Regions from separate parts of the Homo sapiens genome. Here regions 2, 3, 4, 5, 6 and 7 are each linked to region 1. Evidence: promoter capture Hi-C in 16 types of primary human blood cells and fetal thymus (Javierre and others, 2016). All regions are on one chromosome and are shown on one strand. The core of a region is centred on a gene start or on the middle of the fragment in contact, and the rest is flanking DNA. Distances in the headings are between cores, read along the strand shown. Region 1 holds the start of RYBP (RING1 and YY1 binding protein). Region 2 overlaps EIF4E3 (eukaryotic translation initiation factor 4E family member 3). Region 3 has its middle 7.0 kb from the start of EIF4E3. Region 4 has its middle 60 kb from the start of PROK2. Region 5 has its middle 110 kb from the start of PROK2. Region 6 overlaps PPP4R2 (protein phosphatase 4 regulatory subunit 2). Region 7 has its middle 140 kb from the start of PROK2.

What was found. Contacts are between HindIII fragments. The CHiCAGO score rates a contact against its expected background, and 5 or more counts as called.
Region 2: a fragment that was not itself captured here is called in contact with the fragment with the promoter of RYBP in region 1 in 1 of 17 cell types (M0 macrophages); the score reaches 5.2 in M0 macrophages.
Region 3: a contact is called between a fragment that was not itself captured here and the fragment with the promoter of RYBP in region 1, in 5 of 17 cell types (naive CD4 T cells, neutrophils, naive B cells and 2 more). The highest score is 6.1, in naive CD4 T cells.
Region 4: a fragment that was not itself captured here is called in contact with the fragment with the promoter of RYBP in region 1 in 2 of 17 cell types (naive B cells and M1 macrophages); the score reaches 5.2 in naive B cells.
Region 5: a fragment that was not itself captured here is called in contact with the fragment with the promoter of RYBP in region 1 in 6 of 17 cell types (M0 macrophages, megakaryocytes, M1 macrophages and 3 more); the score reaches 7.4 in M0 macrophages.
Region 6: a fragment that was not itself captured here is called in contact with the fragment with the promoter of RYBP in region 1 in 2 of 17 cell types (naive CD8 T cells and total CD8 T cells); the score reaches 5.3 in naive CD8 T cells.
Region 7: a fragment that was not itself captured here is called in contact with the fragment with the promoter of RYBP in region 1 in 1 of 17 cell types (naive B cells); the score reaches 6.8 in naive B cells.

What each region holds. Positions count from the first base shown.
Region 1 is chr3:72,445,313-72,447,963 of GRCh38, forward strand. RYBP (RING1 and YY1 binding protein) reads right to left here and starts at 1,311. Exons shown (of 4, transcript NM_012234.7): 1 at 1,184-1,311. The coding sequence starts at 1,311. RefSeq lists silencers at 1,628-1,687, 1,748-2,157. The HindIII fragment of the contact is 10,688 bases long and covers 1-2,651 here.
Region 2 is chr3:71,705,235-71,707,885 of GRCh38, forward strand. All of the region lies in intron 2 of EIF4E3 (eukaryotic translation initiation factor 4E family member 3), which reads right to left. Among named protein-coding and RNA genes, the nearest start is that of EIF4E3, 19 kb to the right of the region's middle. The HindIII fragment of the contact is 4,662 bases long and covers 1-2,651 here.
Region 3 is chr3:71,731,034-71,733,684 of GRCh38, forward strand. It overlaps a transcript of EIF4E3 not described here. Among named protein-coding and RNA genes, the nearest start is that of EIF4E3, 7.0 kb to the left of the region's middle. The HindIII fragment of the contact is 2,144 bases long and covers 285-2,428 here.
Region 4 is chr3:71,844,323-71,846,973 of GRCh38, forward strand. No RefSeq gene overlaps it. Among named protein-coding and RNA genes, the nearest start is that of PROK2, 60 kb to the left of the region's middle. The HindIII fragment of the contact is 812 bases long and covers 955-1,766 here.
Region 5 is chr3:71,888,987-71,891,637 of GRCh38, forward strand. No RefSeq gene overlaps it. Among named protein-coding and RNA genes, the nearest start is that of PROK2, 110 kb to the left of the region's middle. The HindIII fragment of the contact is 1,718 bases long and covers 453-2,170 here.
Region 6 is chr3:73,000,519-73,003,169 of GRCh38, forward strand. The region is part of intron 2 of PPP4R2 (protein phosphatase 4 regulatory subunit 2); the gene reads left to right. Among named protein-coding and RNA genes, the nearest start is that of PPP4R2, 5.0 kb to the left of the region's middle. The HindIII fragment of the contact is 3,648 bases long and covers 1-2,651 here.
Region 7 is chr3:71,927,629-71,930,279 of GRCh38, forward strand. No RefSeq gene overlaps it. Among named protein-coding and RNA genes, the nearest start is that of PROK2, 140 kb to the left of the region's middle. RefSeq lists an enhancer at 194-1,059. The HindIII fragment of the contact is 6,016 bases long and covers 1-2,651 here.

The DNA of each region.
Region 1 (2,651 bases), core at 61-2,560:
TCATCATTTAAAGAGTGCAATTCACAGAAACAATAATTAGGCCAATTAATCTCAGAGTTAGATTATTTTAGGTTGCCCAATAATCCTATTTAATCCCAAGTATAAATAAACCAATGAAACCTTAACATGACATATTCATCTAATCAAAGAACAATATCCAGTTGGAACTGTGAAGTACTACTACACAGTCACACTGAAATGTCACCAATTCAAAAATAAGTACCTGATAAAATGAGACTTTTGGCAATCAACTGTAATGTTCTAAAGGATCCACCAAAAACTCATTCTTGTCTCACACACACACCCAATGCCTGTTCATTAAATGACACCAAGAACAGTTTAACTTCAAACTCTAACGCCAATGAAACAAATTCAGACATAAATTAAAAGATGACCAAAAGACTACATGAGTCTTGACATTTTATCCAAGTATTTATGAATGTTAAATCTAAAGTAGTTAACTCGTTTTAACATCACATGCAGTTTACGACCTTCATCAAAATGAAAAGGAATTCTTTCAACATTCTTTTCATCATCACAGAGCTTTAAACACAAACTTCCACAGTCACTGCTCATTTCACCATTTTACAAAATCGTCCCCCATCACCACCCCACATAAGCTAGTCAAAGAAAAAAAAAACTGACAGCTCAGTCTCCCACAAAATGCACTTACTTTATCAAATACCGACATTTATTTTCAAGTGCAAGAAAGTAACAGACATTTGCAGCTCAAGACAGGAAAAGCACAGCCAGCCTTACTACCCCCACTAAATTTCTCAGACAAGAGAAAAGTAACTCGGGACAGGCAAATTAAAACCATTCTACACATGGCAAAAATATAAAACATCTATGTCCTACAATCCATAGCGATAGTACTGCTTCCTCTCTTCCCCAGCCAATACCAATAAGCCAATAGACACAAGTGTCAAATAAATCCAGTGTCCGTTTGAAATAAAATGAAAACCTGGAAAAATTCCCTCCCATAAATCATTTAGCGAACACAAGGCTTTTCACCCAACACTTAATACACTCAACCCAAAAACACACACAACCCACCCGCAAATACAAAAAAAGCCGTAATCAACAAGTTGGAAAAAGGGCAGAAAGTAAGGCTCACTACCCTCTCACTTAAAAAAAAAAAAAAAAAGTCCTTTAACAAAAGGTAACACAGATCTTCAAGTACCTGGTGGAGGTGCCTTTCCTCACATCGCAGATGCTGCATTTAAAGGCTTCAGCACTGTTTCTGAAGGTGCAGACGCTACAATCCCAAAACCCTTCGTCTGCGGCAGGTTTCGCTTGTCTTTTTGGCCTTCCGAGGAGTGGAGAGTGGGGGAAAAGGGAGGGAAGAGGCAGGGAGCAGGAAAACGGGGGAGAGACAGCAAAACACAGACGCGGGTGAGCCGTCGTAATTTCGCAGGAATCCAGTGCTGGAAACTTCGCTCGGGAGACCACCCACCCACCCTTTCCGGGGACTGGAAGAGAGAGCGAGGAAGGGAACCGGGCGCCCCCACTGGCACCCTGCAAGCCCCGGGCCCGGGCCGGATAGCCTCGCACACCAGGCGGTGGCGGCGGCGCCCCGGGAAGGGCCGCGGCGGGCGCAGGAAGCGGGCGGACTTGTGGACTTGAGCGTGGGGCTGGGGGGGCCGGGAGGGGAGCCGCGGGCCGGATCTGGAGGGGGCGCGCAGGGGCAGCCCGAGGCCGGCGACGGGGAGTGGGCCGGCTCCTTCCCTCTCCACTCCCAAGCTCGCGCCCTCCCTCCCTCCCCACCTGGTTAAATCCATCACAGTCTCCGGACGAGACTAGTCCCCGCCAGCGCCGCCTCCGCCGAGTGACTGACGAGGGGCGGGGCCTGGCGCCGCGCGTCACGCGCCGTGCGGCCAATGGGAGGGCGGCGGCCGGCGCCGCGAGGGCGGAGGCGGGGCGCGGGGGAAGGCGGGGCGTGGCGGACGTGGGCCGGGCGGTCGGTGTGCGTGCCCGGGAGTGTGTGCGCGCTGGGGGCGCGCGTGCCTGTCGGTGGCCCCGCGGCCCGGCGCGGCGGAGCGTGCAAGCCCGGCGGGGCGCACGTGGCCGCGCCCGGGAGCTGGCAACTGGCTTCGGGCCCCGCACGGCGCCCCGTGAGGCTGTTGCCGGGACCCCGGCCCCGAAGCCGCCCCGGGGAAGTAGTTCCACGCAGTTTGCGCGCGCCGCGGGAGCTTGCAACAGCCTCACCGCTCGCAGCGCCTCGAGGCTTGCAGTGCCCAGGGGCCGACAAGGTCCACCTTTGGACCGCGTTCCCCCGCGCCCCTCTGTTCCTCTGCCATGCGGAGCTTTGTATTTGCCTCTTCTGAAGTCCCTGCGTCCGGCCGAGACGCTGGCCCGAAGCCCCACTCCCTGTCAGGCCCCTGTCGCGGGAGGGAACAGTAGAGAAAGGGCGTGGCATAACTAAATGCCCCCAGGCCAGACTCTGAGCTTCTGCTGGCGGACTCCTCCTGGGATCCTCCTCTCCCCTAGAGTCTAAATAGGGCGTTTCCTTAGGGAAGTTGCTATTCAAATTCTGGCGACCACATGCCCGCATTAAAACCTCGTGCCTCAGCTCCTTCATCTCCAAAATGGGGCTCATCCTCCCAGGGTTGTTTTGAATATTCGGAGAAATCAGGCATGGAAGGTTCGCT
Region 2 (2,651 bases), core at 103-2,602, 740 kb before region 1:
TACTGACCTAGAAAACCTCTTCTTCTGAAGGAAGAGCCCTCATTTCCCAAGGGTTTGGAAAGCAATCTGCTGCCCTAACTTAACTGCACAACTCCAGTCAGGCGGCTTGACCTGCGGATATGAAGTCTTGATATTATCGACAGCACACAGGATAGGTTTGGCATATGCAGGGGAAACATTTTCTTAATTTCAATAGGTTATATATACTCTTTAGGAAGACTTTCTGCTTATGATAAACGATGCTGAATTTCCACTTATAGAGGAAATATGGTTTCTGTTTTATGCAAATTTAAATAAGAAGTCAAGTTATAAGAAATACTGGGTAGAATGTACCACAAGTGAGATAGGTGTGGCAAAATCTTTAAGGCGATACACCAAATAACTGATGTTCGAGACAGAGTGCTGTACAGGAATGAGTTTTCAGGGGTGGAATTTTTAGTCTTGTAGCAGATAAGGCTGAAAGAAACTGGAGAAGGGAGACTTCTCTTGCAAATCACAAATGGCAGGTAGCTCTTCATTCTCCAACAGGTAAAACAGGGCTTGTTCAAAAGCCGTGTTCTATTTTTTTTTCTCCCAGAGATGTGGGTCTTGCCATGTTTCCCAGGCTGAACTCGAACTCTTGGGCTCACGCAATCCTCCCACCTCAGCTTCCTGAGTAGCTGAGATCACAGGCATGAGCCAATGCACCCGGCTAAAAGCCATTTTCTATTCTGCACTGCAACCACTGAGGATGCAAAATCACAAGAGAAATGTGGAAAATTTGGACAGGTTCACAAAGGAGTAAGAGAATCAATAAGCATCTGGAAAATACGCCTAGATGTAAAATGGAATTTTCCAAGAAAGTTAGGAAAGTAGAAATGAATTTAACTCCAGGCAGAGAGAATTATTGTTAGGTGTGATGAAAGTGTCCTCAGCAGGGGTTCCCAGGTCCTTTGGAGGCTGAGTCTCCTCCACTCCTCAATCACGGGGAGTAAAAGAAAGAGAATTGGACTGGGAGGGAATTCTAGTCCTAGAGGCAAGGCATGACTGGCTCTTTCCAATCATGGAATGTTTGGGCCTCTTACCTCCAGCCTCAGTCTCCTCAACTAATAGACGGGGTAACGATTCCTCTCCCAAACCATCTACTTTGATTTGCTAAAGGGCCTCAAAGTATAAAAAGACTCATATGTCTTTAATAAGACAATCATTAATATCACATGATTTTTACCTTTCATCTAAACACATATGGGAGGAAAACACAGACATAATTGGAGAAGCAGTTTTTTTTAGTGCTAATGGAGTGAGAGTAAAAGGATCAACGTACAGGCCAAAGTGGTTCATGCCTGTAATCTGAGCACTTTGGGAGGTCAAGGAGGGAACACAGCTTGAGGTCAGAAATTCGAGACTAGCCTGAGCAACATAGCAAGACCCCATCTCTACAAAAAAAATAAAATAATTTAGCTGGGTGTGGTAGCACATGGCTATAGTCCCAGATACTTGGGAGGAGGCTGGGGTGGGAGGATCTCTTGAGACCAGGAGTTTGAGGCTGCAGTGAGCTATAATAGCACCACTGCACTCCTGCCTGGGTGACAAAGTGAGACCCTGTTTCTGAAGAAAAAAAAATTAATATACAATCCTAGAATAAAATAAAAAGACAGTGGGACAAAAGCATATCCTCAAATTACTTACAAGATAGTATCCTGGCCAGTTCTTAAATACTAAGGACAATTTATCAGCTGTTATGGACACTCGCAGGCTGAAAACTCAAAAGTTATTGATAAGTTAAATATCTTTACATACACCTCTGTGTTAGTGGTGGTGCGATCCAGAGTATAATCACTTGAAATAAATAATCTAGAAGCAGTGGTATATAGTTTCCTGATATAAAACATGACTGAAGAAAGCACGAAAAGATATCTCAGTAGAAGTAGACAAATTATGGCAGATGATTGGGTACTTACTATGGCTTTTTACCTCATTGTATCATTTAAGTCTCATAACAGCATGATAAAATTACCATCACAATTATTTCCATCTTACAGATGAGTAAACTGAGATTCAGACAGGTTATATAACTTGTCCAAGCTAGTAAGTGTCACATATGGGACATCAACCAAGGCATTGTGACAACCCTAGCCCACACCCTAGCCAGGTAACTGATGGAGCTGAGGGGTAGAATCCAGTAACACTTAAGTAAAAGCTGGCCACATCTGAGGGCTAAGTGCCAAGCATTACTAAGAACTATATACCATCTCATCTAACTTTCACTCTACCTTAGCGAGTAGGCACTATTACTACCTCAGTTTTACAGATGAGAAACTGAGGGAGCAGAGACAGCTGAGACAGAAAGGAATTTCCTGATCCTTAGGGCAGTGTTTATCAGCCATTTTTTTCACTGTTCCCCCCTTAGGCCCTAAAAGAACCCTTTTTCCTAATCACCTATGACGAAATTTTAATACCACAGAGACACCGTATGTTTATGGACTGCATGGACATCTATGCTTTGTACGTAAAAAGAATGAGATTTGTTCACTGATCTACTTCCCCTGCAAGAATCAACTTTGGCCCCCACTGAGAATGTGCAGCCCACAGAATTCTTACGGGAGCAGTCTGTTGTGACTCAGGAAAGTGGTTCATTTATTAACTTCTAATTCATTCTTTTTTTTTTTTTT
Region 3 (2,651 bases), core at 107-2,606, 710 kb before region 1:
TCTTTATTCCCACTGGTGCCAGCCACTCCCAGTCCTCACTCCTGAGTCAGCCAAGCATGGCCTGGAGGACTGCAACAGCCTCCTAACGGGTCTCCCTGCTTCTAACACCCGACCCTCTCATCTCCTGCCAGACAGCAGCCTGAACAACAGTCCTCAAACACTGGTTTGCTTCTGCCTGCTCTCAGAAAAAAACCCAGACTCTTTCTGGTGGCCAACAGTACTTGGCATCTTCTGGATCCTTCCTGCCTTTCCAAATCCATGGCTGATCTCTCCCCCTGCCTCAAAGCTTCTCTGTGGCCACAGGGCACCTGCATATGCTGTTCTTTCTCCTGAACTGCTAGTCCCTCCGCTTGCATGGCTGACTCCTTCTCCTGCCTTAGGCCTCCACTCTAAAGCAGGTCTTCTCCCCTTCCTCATTATTTTTTTCAGTGCACGTGTCAGCTGCACACATCAACTGCCGATCTTCCGAAACAGAATATCCAGTCCAAGTGGGGAGGGCCAGGCCTCTCTTGTCCACCTTTGTCCACCCAGTGCCTAGTGCAGGGCCTGTCCATGGCTGGCACACCAGCAACATTTATTAAGGAAACAAACTGGGTATACAGCAGATATTGGTTGAAAGGAAGAGTCTGTGACTTTGTCTCCTAATTTCTTGTCTTTCTCCTCTGCCAGTGTATCTTTCTCATGGACGGCATGTTGGTCTTCCTAAAAAGCACTTTTGTCCTATTACTTCTTTGTTCAAAAGCCCTAAAGCGCTGCCTGTTTCTCACAGGCTGAGGTCTGAAATCTGGAATCTAGCCTTTGAAATTGTCCACACCTTGACCCCCTTTTTCAAATGCATTTGCGAGTATATTTCCAAATATATTTAGAGAGATATAATTATACACCTATATTTACATATACTTGGAATATATATGTTAAATCTATATATTTGGAGAAACAGCTATACATGGAAATATATATATTCCAAACAGATTTGTCCCTATTTCTTGGTGCATTTTCAGCTCTGCCACAACATGAGCTCCCGAAGACAGGCCTGGGCCCACCCCCTCCACCACTGTCTTCTGGGTTCCTAGCACGGTGTCTGGCACATGGGAGACCCAGCTTTACTGAATCAATGATGGGCTTACTCCCCACTTGGTAAACACACCATATGTACTCATATCTCCACACTTTTGCCTGAGACCTTTCTTCTCTCCTCTGACCATCTAAATTGTCTAACCATCCTTCAAGGGCCAGGCCAAGTTCCCTCACAGGGAATCAGTCACCAAACACACCCCAGATAGGGACAAGAGATTCACAGAGTTCTAGAGACACAGCTGGGCAGTGCCCAAACTACTTTCCTGATTTAAAAAAAAATCTCTTCCCTGATTTAAAAAAAAAAAGTCCCAACGATGTCAGTATATAGGTTTTGTGGCCAGTCTAAGAGCTCTGATTAAAGACCTTTGTTGTGGCCACACAGAATTCCACTGATTGGAGGAGTAATGATTTGTATAACCAACTCCTCCTGTTAGGCACACAGATTATTACCAGTGATTGTGGCTATCATGTGCAACCCTGTAATAAACACTCTGCCAATCACTGGCTTCTTATCAAAGAGTAGTTCTGAACATTCCTGGCCAGCCAATCAATCAGAGATACAGAGATAGCTTACATCAGAAACTGGACTGAAGGGGAGAGCCGGCAGGCCTCAAATTGGTCTTCAGCAATTTTTAAAAGAAAGGAAACGATGAGCAGTAGGGAGGCAATGTGATCAGAGGAAAGTCCAAAAACATGTGCTTGAGCCAATGTCTAACAGCCATGTGCTTTGGGACAAATCGGTGAACCTCTGAGTCTCCTTTTTTCTCAATTAAAAAATGAGTGTGCCAATAACACCTGCTTTGCAGTGCTGCCTGAAGGATCAAATCAGGAACATTTGGTGAGGCTCTACATAAAAGTCAAAAAAAGGTCACCCAAGTGTTGATTCTCGTTTCCTTATCACAGTTCCTGGAGGGGATAACCCTACATCTTCTCTGCTTTTTGAATACGAGTGTCCTCCTTTGTATGCTCGTTGGGGATCTAGAGACAGGTGGAGTGAACAACTGTCCCAATTTGCCTAGGACTGTTCCAATTTGAGCACTGAAAGTTCTGAGTCCCAGAAAACCCTTTGGTCCTGGGAAAACCCGAACGGTAGATACACAAGGAGCGGGTCCTGGAGCACTGCCTGTTCCAGAGGATTTCAGCAACCATCTTGGAGGCCTCTAATCCCCACTATGAGCTGATAACTGCTCGCCTAGTGGGATAAATCAACAGCAAGCAAGTCATTTGTTTACATCTAAGAAGCTGCTTTAAGGATAAGATTTTGTTTTGGGGATTTCATTTACGGTTCATAGATCATTTAGGGGAACATTTTGTAAGCCAGTTCTCTGAGGAAGTGTATTGTGCTTTCCGAAGCTTTATTTTAAGCTGAAATAATCATATTTATGACATAAGAAATCTTGATACAGAAAATATAAGCTGATTTGGCAAAATATTAGGAGGTTATGAGTCAGGCTGCAAAAAGACCTCCTGTACCATCTTTCCCTGTACCATATTTAACCCAAGCTTCCTGAGGGGTGGGGAGCTCACCTTTGAGGTCCTCAGAGACTATTATAAAGTACTGCTCATGTACTGGG
Region 4 (2,651 bases), core at 111-2,610, 600 kb before region 1:
AAGTTTTTTCTCCTACTCAAATGGGGGCACTGTTGTTTATTATATTAAAGCCTAACTATTTGGCCCAATCTTTCCTTTTTTCTCAAACCTAACCCCAGAAAATGAAATTTACATGGTGTCTTTTGGGTGACCTGTATCATCTCCTTGACCTCTGCTTCTTTCTGGCCATATCCTGCCATTCTCTTATTCAGTCTCTGCATTTCAACCATCCTTGCTTTCTTTCAATTCCTAGAACTGCTATGCTCCTTCCCACCCCAGGGCCTTAGTACATGCTGTTCCCTCCTTGTCTGTAATACTCTCTGCTCTTCATCTACTAACTCCTTCTCCTCCTTCTCTTTGCTTAGTTAAGCCTTTCCTAAGTGATCCCCTGCCCACCATTCAGCCCTCATTTTCTGTCCCCAACAGGTCAGGTTGCCTTGTTACATACTCTTATCATGTGTGTATTTCATATCACTTCTCATGATTGCAGTTAATTAATTGCATAGTTACTTCAAATATCTGGTGCTCCCAGCAGTCTGAAAATTACGTGAGTGCCTGTGTTGTTCACTGCTGTGTCTCTAACACCTAGCATGATGCTTGGTGTATTGCAAGTTCTTGTTGTATATAGAAGAATGAATATGTGCAATGCACACTATCTAGCTCTGAAGGCTTTGCCTTTCTCCTCCTGTGATGCCCACCACCTTCCTCATTTAGATGAAACACTTTGTAGATAACTATGCTCAATAAACCTGATGGATGTTTATTGATGGATCCCTGGGCCAGCAGTTTGAGAGACCACTTATAAATACAAAGGTGCACAAAATCATTCTTGTTCTTTGTCTATAACCAAAAAATCATATTGTGTATCAATTGCAAATGAACTATAATGAAACAATAATATTCTTAGGGACTTGATAACAATGTTGACTGTTGGAGACTCTTGAAAAAAATAAGATGATTTTGGGAACTTGTTAAAGCTTGTGTTTACTCTCAAATTTAAGGGAGAATGCATATGGCACTAATAGAAGTTAGACAATAGAGTGATGACTTAATGTTTTGGAAATTTAGGGGACAGGTGTGACAGCCTATTGTGTCTCAGAACAAGCAATTTGAACAAAGACATAAAGTATACAAATGGGAAGAGAATTTGATTTCACTTAATTTTATTTGGTAGAACTTAACACTTGAACAACTGCTGTTTGCTAGACTTTAAGAGTTTTAAAATTCCCCTTTCTCCCTAATGGATCCTGAAGAGAAATGTATCCATTTGTTTCATGGCAAATGTTCAATTGCAGATTTGAGGGATAATAAAAGCTCTTACCTTACTATTTAATTATTCAGTTGACTGCTAGAAAGATTAAGCTACCTAAATGGGTTTGTAACTCAGAAATGACAATATATGCTTATTTTAAAAGATAGCCATGTAATTCCAAGACAAACTAGTGGCAATCTAGATTTTTATTATGACAGTAGCAATTTGGAAATTATGCCAAAAGTTCAAAAAAATTGGCAGTCATAAGTTTGCTTTTTTACTTGATAGTCTTGAATATGCTTTCTGTGACAAGTATTATATTCCTGAAACTTCTACACTGAACACCCAGAGTGAATAATTGCATAAAATGTAACAATGAGATATTTATAAATATAATATTTTTCTATTCAACGATTACATTTTTCTATAAGAAGAGTTTGATGTATATTTAATGCTAGACCTACTTTAAAATATGTACACATTACTAAAGGGAAAATGCATTAAAAGAAACCACTGTATTATCAATTTCTGGTAAAGCTTAAAAATGTTGTCATTAATTATAGATGGAGCACTTTTCCTGTGATATATTCCTATTTGTTTGACACCTGGCAGGGCCTGCACCAATTTATTCACTTTCTCTGTTACACAGCATTCAATCCCTGGGGCCATTATTTCTGAGGGAAACCAAGTAACATAACCAGAAGCCTCCATGAATGATTCATACTAGAACACTCTAGAACATGCTGCCCAATGGGATATGCTGACTGACTAATCCAAATTGATGGCTGGAGCTTCTGTGGTGTCACAAGGAAGTGATCCACTTACCAGATCCTCGAGATTAGCTAAACCCTTTCAGCAGCTGCTGAGCCTCATAGGTCTCCCCTTGTCCGCACGTATTATCTGCAACGTTATCGGGATAGAGCATTTCCTAAACAAACGCACGCGCATAAACACTGTAAAATAGCTGCTTGTCTCTGGCACCTCCGAGACACTTAGTAGCGTCTTTATCTCTTTTATATTGAATAACCTCTTCACTAGTATAGAAGCAGTGCATTTATATTTATAGAAAATTAGGAAACACAAACAAAAACTTCACCTTACCATCACCCAGAATCACCATATGTTAGATCTTCGTCCATATGCTTCCGAATCTTTATGTATTTGTACATATATTTGTATTTATATACACACATATTAGTATGTATTCTGCTTTACCAGTGTGAGATGACACTCCACTTACTGTCTTAAAACTTACATTTTCAGCCAATGATCTTTACCTTTCCACTTCAGTACTTTTTTTTTGAGACAGGGTCTCACTCTGCCGCCCAGGCTGGAGTACGGTAGCGCAAACACTGCTCACTGCAGCCTCTACCTCCTGGGCTCAGGTGATCCTCCCACCTCAGTGTCTTGGGTAACTAGG
Region 5 (2,651 bases), core at 62-2,561, 560 kb before region 1:
CCAGGCAAGTTCAACAATACCCGATTGGTCCATAGCTCAGGACCAGACTTGGCCACAAGCTTGGATGAAGATCTTTCAATTCTGAAACTGCTATGCGAGTGTCTCAATGTCTTTTCATCCCCTGTCACAGATGGGAAACAGACTGCTCTTGGACTGGCACTGGTTTTTGGGCTGCACTGGGGAGCACTGCTGGAGGGAGCCCTGGTCTTCTCTTCTCTGGCCCCTTACTGTGGGGTGAGGCTTCTGCATCACAAGGAACGGTGCCCACTTGGAGCCCATGACCACCTGGAGATCACATTCTGAGTACCCTGGGTCTTGGAGTCTCCTGCTTGCTGACTCCAAGTCCACATCCAGGGCCCACACAGCCCTTTTCCCCAGGTCCATCCACCTCACCTCCAGATCCAAGAGTTGACAAAAGGGCACCTGTTTGTGGTGGTGGTGGGTGTGGACAAAGCTTGGGTGCTCAAGCACCAACCACCAGCTGGGAAGCTCTTCTGGTCTAGGCTTGCTTGGATGTATTCAGAAGTTAGAAGATGGTGGCTGGGCTGGGGCTGGATGGAATATTAGTCAGTGTTCTCCAGAGAAATAGAATCAACAGGAGATACATACATATATACATATATATGTATGAATATATCTAAATGTATATCTGTATGTATCTCCATATATATTTTATATATGTATACCCTATATAGATACATAAAGCCTGGGTGACAGAATAAGACCTTGTCTCAAAAAAAAAAAAAAATTCATGGACACACTGCAACACTTGGGAGCTTAGATTTAATCTAAGAACTTCATGATTAAGCCAAAGATGCTTCTTCTCAAAACACTTGTATTTTAAAAGGAAACTTAGAGTTCACGCGAGAGCTTTACAGATTGGGCCACTGGAGGTAGTTTAAGAATTAGCTTGGGCTGGGCGCGGTGGCTCAAGCCTGTAGTCCCAGCACTTTGGGAGGCCGAGGCGGGCGGATCACGAGGTCAGGAGATCAAGACCATCCTGGCTAACACGGTGAAACCCCGTCTCTACTAAAAATACAAAAAATTAGCCGGGCTTGGTGGCGGGCGCCTGTAATCCCAGCTACTCGGGAGGCTGAGGCAGGAGAATGGTATGAACCCGGGAGGCGGAGCTTGCAGTGAGCCGAGATCGCGCCACTGCACCCTATCTAGCCTGGGCGACAGAGCGAGACTCTATCTCAAAGGAAAAAAAAAAAAAAAAAAGAATTAGCTTGAGATGGCTGCTGGCAGGTAGATGGGATCTTATCCAAGGAAGGGCTGTCTCTGGAGGCCCTCAAATCCCACCTGTGGCCAGGATTTCTCCAAGTGCAGCCTGCCTGCAATGTGTTTTACACACACCCAGGGAGCCTACTTATGGGGGTTGTGGGGAGCCAGGAAAGCTAAATTCTATCCAACTCTGTCCAGGATGCTGACACAGCATGTGCCTGAGAATGTCCCCTACTCTTCCTAGCTATGACAGGTCCTCTAAGGGGAGTTCTGTTTAAGAGTCACTTTTTTTTTTTTTTGAGACAAGGTTCACTGCTGTCACCCAGGCTGGAGTGCCACGGCATGATCTCAGCTCAGTGCAACCTCCGCCTCTTGGGCTCAAGTGATTTGAAAAGACTCAGTCTTTGCTTCATGAACCCTCTTGGCCAAACAAAACCAAAGTGATTTCTCAAAAGTTTTTCCTATGTGTGAAACATTCCTGATGACAGCCCAGCCCTGTCAAGCTGATCTCTCACACCCTGAGGAAACCTTCATAGCCACGCTGCCTCGCTTTGAATACAGAGGACAGACAATGTTCCTAAGCATCATACCTCCAAAAATAGCCCTTTATTTCCTTCTTATCCAGTGATGAAAAAGGTTAACCATAGTCTAAAAACAAAGTTGAGAAACTCACACTTTAAAAATGGGAATACAGAGAAAAGGGAAGACTTTTGTTTCTAGTTGTTCTCTCTTCTCACTCTGGGTATTGCAGGGCGGTTCTCATAAAGCAAGCTCCTGGTTTCTGGGCCAGCTTTGCCTGGGGCATTTACCTTCGCTATGACTGAAGTGTCAAGGTACTCTGAGCCAGCCTTGACAGGGGAATTTGGCTCATTGGGAATCTTGGTTCAGGGGAACTCTGGGGTTCTTGGGGTTCTTTCTGCCTAGATCCCCCCTTTCTTTTTGGGGAAGCTTACAAAGAGGAATTGGCAGTTATTGCCAAGTCCCATGGATGCCTGAGTTTGAACTCTGCCTGGAAGACATTATTACAGTCTCTACTGGGCAACTTCTAGGAAGGCCACTTTGAGGGGCCTAACAGCCAAGACTTTCAGAGTAAGAAACTGAACTCTACCTCAAACTGTGTAGGCAAAAAGGGAAGGTGCTGGTTCAGATAGCTGGGAAGGATCCTGGGATAGTCCCTAAAATCCAAGGCAGATGTGCAGGAGGCAGGCCCTCAGAGTTAAGAGCTGGTGGTCCCTGTCTCCAGGCTCCTTCTCTCTCCTAGCTGGCTGCCTCTGCTTTCTTCATTCTCCCAGGCTGCCATAGAAAAGGCTTCCTCCATTCTGTGGGAAGATAGCCATTGTTGCTCCCAGCTGACACAGTAGCTACTGGTCATCCTTAATCTCACAACATCTGTATTTTTTCTCTGGGAAGGGCTCTGATTGGTCCTT
Region 6 (2,651 bases), core at 45-2,544, 560 kb after region 1:
GTAAGTATAGGCTTTTACAATGGAGGAGGTTGTAGGAAAAATGGAGGAGGCCGTAGGAAAAATTTGAACATTTTTACTTCTTAGTCTATTAAAATTACCTGTAAACATCTGATGTAGGAAGTTAGGAAAGATGCCAAGACATACTAAATTGATGTGAAGAGGGAAACTATATATGTATATAACTAAAATAATTAATCCCCAGGTGAATTGTTTCTGGCCACTTCAAAAAATTGTTTTTATGTTGGAAAGAATACACTCTTCTGAAGGTAATGTAGTTTCTGACATCATGCTAAATATATAGTATGCGCTGAATAAACAGGAACATATGGTGTGTTTCAATCATGAATTTAAACACTTGATGCATTTCAGTCATGGATTTAAAGGTATTTGATGGGTTTGAGTTGCAATTATTATCCTTTTTGACGGTCAAGTTGTCTCCCATTTGGTCAGTGGTAGCCTTTTCCAGTTGGCTCCAGAGTCCTTTTGACGTGACCTTAGTAGTTTTTGATAGTATCCTTATTCTCTGGTATAAGAATATGTTCCAAGCTCATTTCCTGCCCCAGATGTGAATCAGATATTTCTCAAGAAGACCTGCCTTTTAGTGGGAAATGGCATTTCAAGACTACAATCTTGGTGGTAGAGAAGTTTATTATTACTCAGCTACATAAAATACTAAGACTTGCAATTCAGAATGAGGAATACAGCGTTTTAAAAAGTTTTTTTTTTGTTTAGGTAAAATATACTTATATAATTTACTGGCCAGGTGCAGTGATTCATGTCTGTAATCCCAGAACTTTGAGAGGCTGAGGCAGGTGGCCCAGGGTCACTTGAGCCCAGGAGTTCGAGACCAGCCTGGGCAACATGGTGAAACCCGTCTTTACAAAAAATATAAAAAATTAGCCTAACGTGGTGGCATGCGCCTGTAGTCCCAGCTACTCCCAGCTACTTGGGAGGAGGAGGTAGGAGGATCACCTGAGCCTGGGAGGTTGAGGCTGCAGTGAGCCGTGATTGTGCCACAGCACTCCAGTCTGGGCAACAGAGTAAGACCTTGTCTCAAACACACACATGCACACTTGCACACTTATGTAATTTACCATCTTTACCATTTTAGTTTTCTTTCTTCTTTTTTTTTATTTTTTTGAGATGGAGTCTCGCCCTATGCCACACTGGATCGTAGTGGCGCGATCTCGGCTCACTTCATCCCCCACCTCCTGAGTTCAAGCGATTCTCCTGCCTCAGCCTCCTGAGTAGCTGGGACTACAGGCACACACAACTAATTATTGTGTTTTTAGTAGAGACAGGGTTTCACCATGTTGGCCAGGATGATCTCTATCTCTTGACCTCGTGATCCACCTGCCTTGGCCTCCCAAACTGCTGGGATTACAGGCGTGAACCATCGCCCCCGGCCCCATCTTTAGCATTTTAAGTGTACAGTTTGGTGGTAATAAATACATGTATATTCTTTTTTCTCCCCTTTTATCTCTCCTGTTCCTTGCTCAGTCTCTAGTAATCATCAGTCTTTAGACTCTTACCTTTGTGAGATCCACTGTTGTAGCTCCCACATATGTGAAAACGTGATGTTTGTCTTTCTGTGCTTGACTTAACTTCACTTAACATAATGGCCTATAGTTCCATCCATGTTGTTGCAAATGACAGGATCTAATTCTTTTTTATTGCTGAATAATATACCACATTTTCTTTTCCATTGATGGGAACTCAGGTTGGTTCCTTGTTTTAAAAAAATGTATTTTTGAGGCAAGGTCTTGCTGTTGCCCAGGCTTTAGTGCAGCAACTCAGTCATAGCTCACTGCAACCTCAAACTCTTAGGCTCAAGGGATCCTCTTGCCTCAGCCTCCTGAATAGCTAGGACTTACAGATAGGGTACATGCCACGATGCCTGGCTAATTTATAATTTTTTTTGTAGAGACAAAGTCTTGCTATGTTGCCTAGGCTGATCTCCAACTCCTGGCCTTAAGCAATCCTCCCAGAGTGCAAAGATTACAAAGCATGAGCCATTGCACTGAGCTGGTTTCATATTTTGGCTGTTGTGAATAGTGCTGCAGTAAACATGGGAGTGCACAGGGATTTTTCTTTTCTTTTCTTTTCTTTTCTTTTCTTTTTTTTTTTTTTTTTTTTTTTTTGAGACGGAGTCTCGCTCTGTCACCCAGGCTGGAGTGCAGTGGCGCGATCTCGGCTCGCTACAACCTCTGCCTCCTGGGTTCAAGCGATTTTCCTGCCTCAGCCTCGTGAGTAGCTGGGATTACAGGCATGCGCCACCACGCCTGGCTAATTTTTTTGTATTTTTAGTAGAGATGGGGTTTCACTGTGTTAGCCAGGATGGTCTCGATCTCCTGACCTCGTGATCCATCCACCTTGGCCTCCCAAAGTGCTGGGATTACAGGTGTGAACCACTGCGCCTGGCCCAGGGTTTTTATAACTTTTTGCATACCAGGAATCCTGGTTCTCTCAAGAACACAGGCAGGGTATGATAGAATCAGGATGTCTTGTAATTACTGATTGTAACCAACATTACACATCAGAAAGTCTAAAATAATAATGCGAATATTACTGCCACCAATATAATTACTAGGAATGTTAAATTTTTTTTTTTTTACATATTCTCTATTTCTAGCCCCCATTTAAAAGTTTTT
Region 7 (2,651 bases), core at 45-2,544, 520 kb before region 1:
CTTTTTTCTTCCGTTTCAAACAGATGAAGAAACTGAAATCTAGATAAGCTAAGCCCCTTCCTGGGTGTCACTCTAGTTACTAGGTTTTGGACACAAGCCTGTACAATTCCAAAGCCCGAGCTGTTAATGTGGTTTGTAGGAGAACACACTCTCTTCTGAAGTCTAGACTATGTTGGTAGCACCATCTTCACTTTGCTTCTCCAAGTCCCTCTTTGGGCTTGTGGGTCTGTAGTATTATTGCATCACGCATCACTTTTCCTACACAATTGGAGCAGCAGTGAGACTTTTCTAAGTTCCTCGAGGGCAGGGACTGAGCCTTCATAGAGCTAGCCAGCCTCAGCATCCTGCAGTGCCTTGCACCCAGTAAACACCTAAGGGACGTTTTTTTGTTGACTAAATGAAACAAAGTAAAGTCAACCCTTAAACATGCACAGTAGGGCCAGGCATAAAGGCTAATGCCTGTAATCCCAGCACTCTGGGGAGCTGAGGTGGGAGCATTGCTTGAGGCCAGGAGTTTGAAACCAACCTGGGCAGCAGCATAGCAAGATCCCATATCTCCAAAAAATAAAAGTATAATTAAAAAAGAATAGCAATCCACCCATTTGCCATGCTTCCATTTTGTACCTTGGTAATCAAAGCTAATAGATAGTCAAAGTCCTTGTCAGGCCTGGTAAATTATCAAAGTTCTTGTTAGGCCTCGAAACAATTTTGAAATCCTCAACTGAGGATGTCATTCAGCCACAATTTATGAGTTGGACTGGGCTTGTGAGATAAATTTTATCGTGCTGCCTCTTTGTAGCAGGCTTTTTAAAAGTTGTTACCCTTCATCCAAGAATGTTATTGTTTGTTGAAAATAAGATCACAGATCTCAGATTCAGAAGAACCTAATCCAGGCCCTATGTGTAAATGTTGGCTGAGTGCCTTTGAACAAATTTCCTACCTTCTCTGAGTTTGAAGCCCTTGGCTGTAGATTGGGAATGCCAACATCCATTCATCATGGTTCTTACAAGAATTAAAGGAGAAAGCATTTGCAACAATACCTGATACAATCCGAAGCATCATATAAATATATGTTTGTTATCAAAAACAATAATGCCACTGGCCTTATGGGAGTAGATGCTAGTTATTCTCTGTGATACTAACTTTATAAATGTAGTGGTGGCATCCTGGGTAGCCCTAAGTCTTTCTTATTAACCTCTTGTTGATTTATCATCCATAAAGGTAGGAAAATGTTCTCTGAGCCTATTTATTTTATACTTTCTATGATCCATTTGCCCCGTCCGGGAGGGAGGTGGGGGGATCAGCCCCCCGCCCGGCCAGCCGCCCGGTCCGGGAGGTGAGGGGCGCCTCTGCCCGGCCGCACCTACTGGGAAGTGAGGAGCCCCTCTGCCCGGCCACCACCCCGTCTGGGAGGTGTACCCAACAGCTCATTGAGAACAGGCCATGATGACAATGGCGTTTTTGTGGAATAGAAAGGGGGGAAAGGCGGGGAAAGGATTGAGAAATCGGATGGTTGCCATGTCTGTGTAGAAAGAGGTAGACACGGGAGACTTTTCATTTTGTTCTGTACTAAGAAAAATTCTTCTGCCTTGTGATCCTGTTGATCGGTGACCCTACCCGCAACCCTGTGCTCTCTGAAACATGTGCTGTGTCCACTCAGGGTTAAATGGATTAAGGGTGGTGCAAGATGTGCTTTGTTAAACAGATGCTTGAAGGCAGCATGCTCCTTAAGAGTCATCACCACTCCCTAATCTCAAGTACCCAGGGACACAAACACTGCGGAAGGCCGCAGGGTCCTCTGCATAGGAAAACCAGAGACCTTTGTTCACTTGTTTATCTGCTGACCCTCCCTCCACTATTGTCCTATGACCCTGCCAAATCCCCCTCTGTGAGAAACACCCAAGAATGATTAAAAAAAAAAAAAAAAAAAAAAAGAAATATGAGGTCCATAAGTTTACTGTCTTTTGCATGAAGTAGATTCTCCTTTTATCTGCTAAAACAATCCCCTAGTTAGAGCAAATTCTCCTGCTGTTTCAGAACTTCTTGCTTATATATGGTAACTACAATCCTTTATCTAAAACTCTTGGCCAGGCTGGGCACAGTGGCTCACACCTGTAATCCCAGCACTTTGGGAGGCTGGGACGGGCGGATCACCTGAGGTCAGGGGTTCGAGACCAGGCTGGCCAACATGGTGAAACCTTCTCTCTACTAAAAATACAAAAATGAGCCGGGTGTGGTGGCGGGCACCTGTAGTCCCAGCTTCTCAGTAGGCTGAGGCAGGAGAATTGCTTGAACCCGGGAGGCGGAGGTTGCAGCGAGCCGAGATTTCGCCACTGCACTCTAGCCCGGGCAACAGAGTGAGAGTTCATCTCAAAAAACAAACAAACAAACAAACAAACAAACAAAAACACTCGGGCCAGATGTGTTATGAAATTTAGGATTTTTTGAATGTTAGAAAGGCAATACTCTATGTATGCCATTTATTATTTAACACCGATCATTGAACTCATTAATCCTTCTACACAGGAAAACATTAATATTCACATTAAGTGGACTAAATAGATTAAGTTACATTATGCCAGACAGAGTCGGGATGAATGAGTTTAGTTTAGGCTCAGGTTTGGTCATCAAATGAATCACCAAAAAAAAAA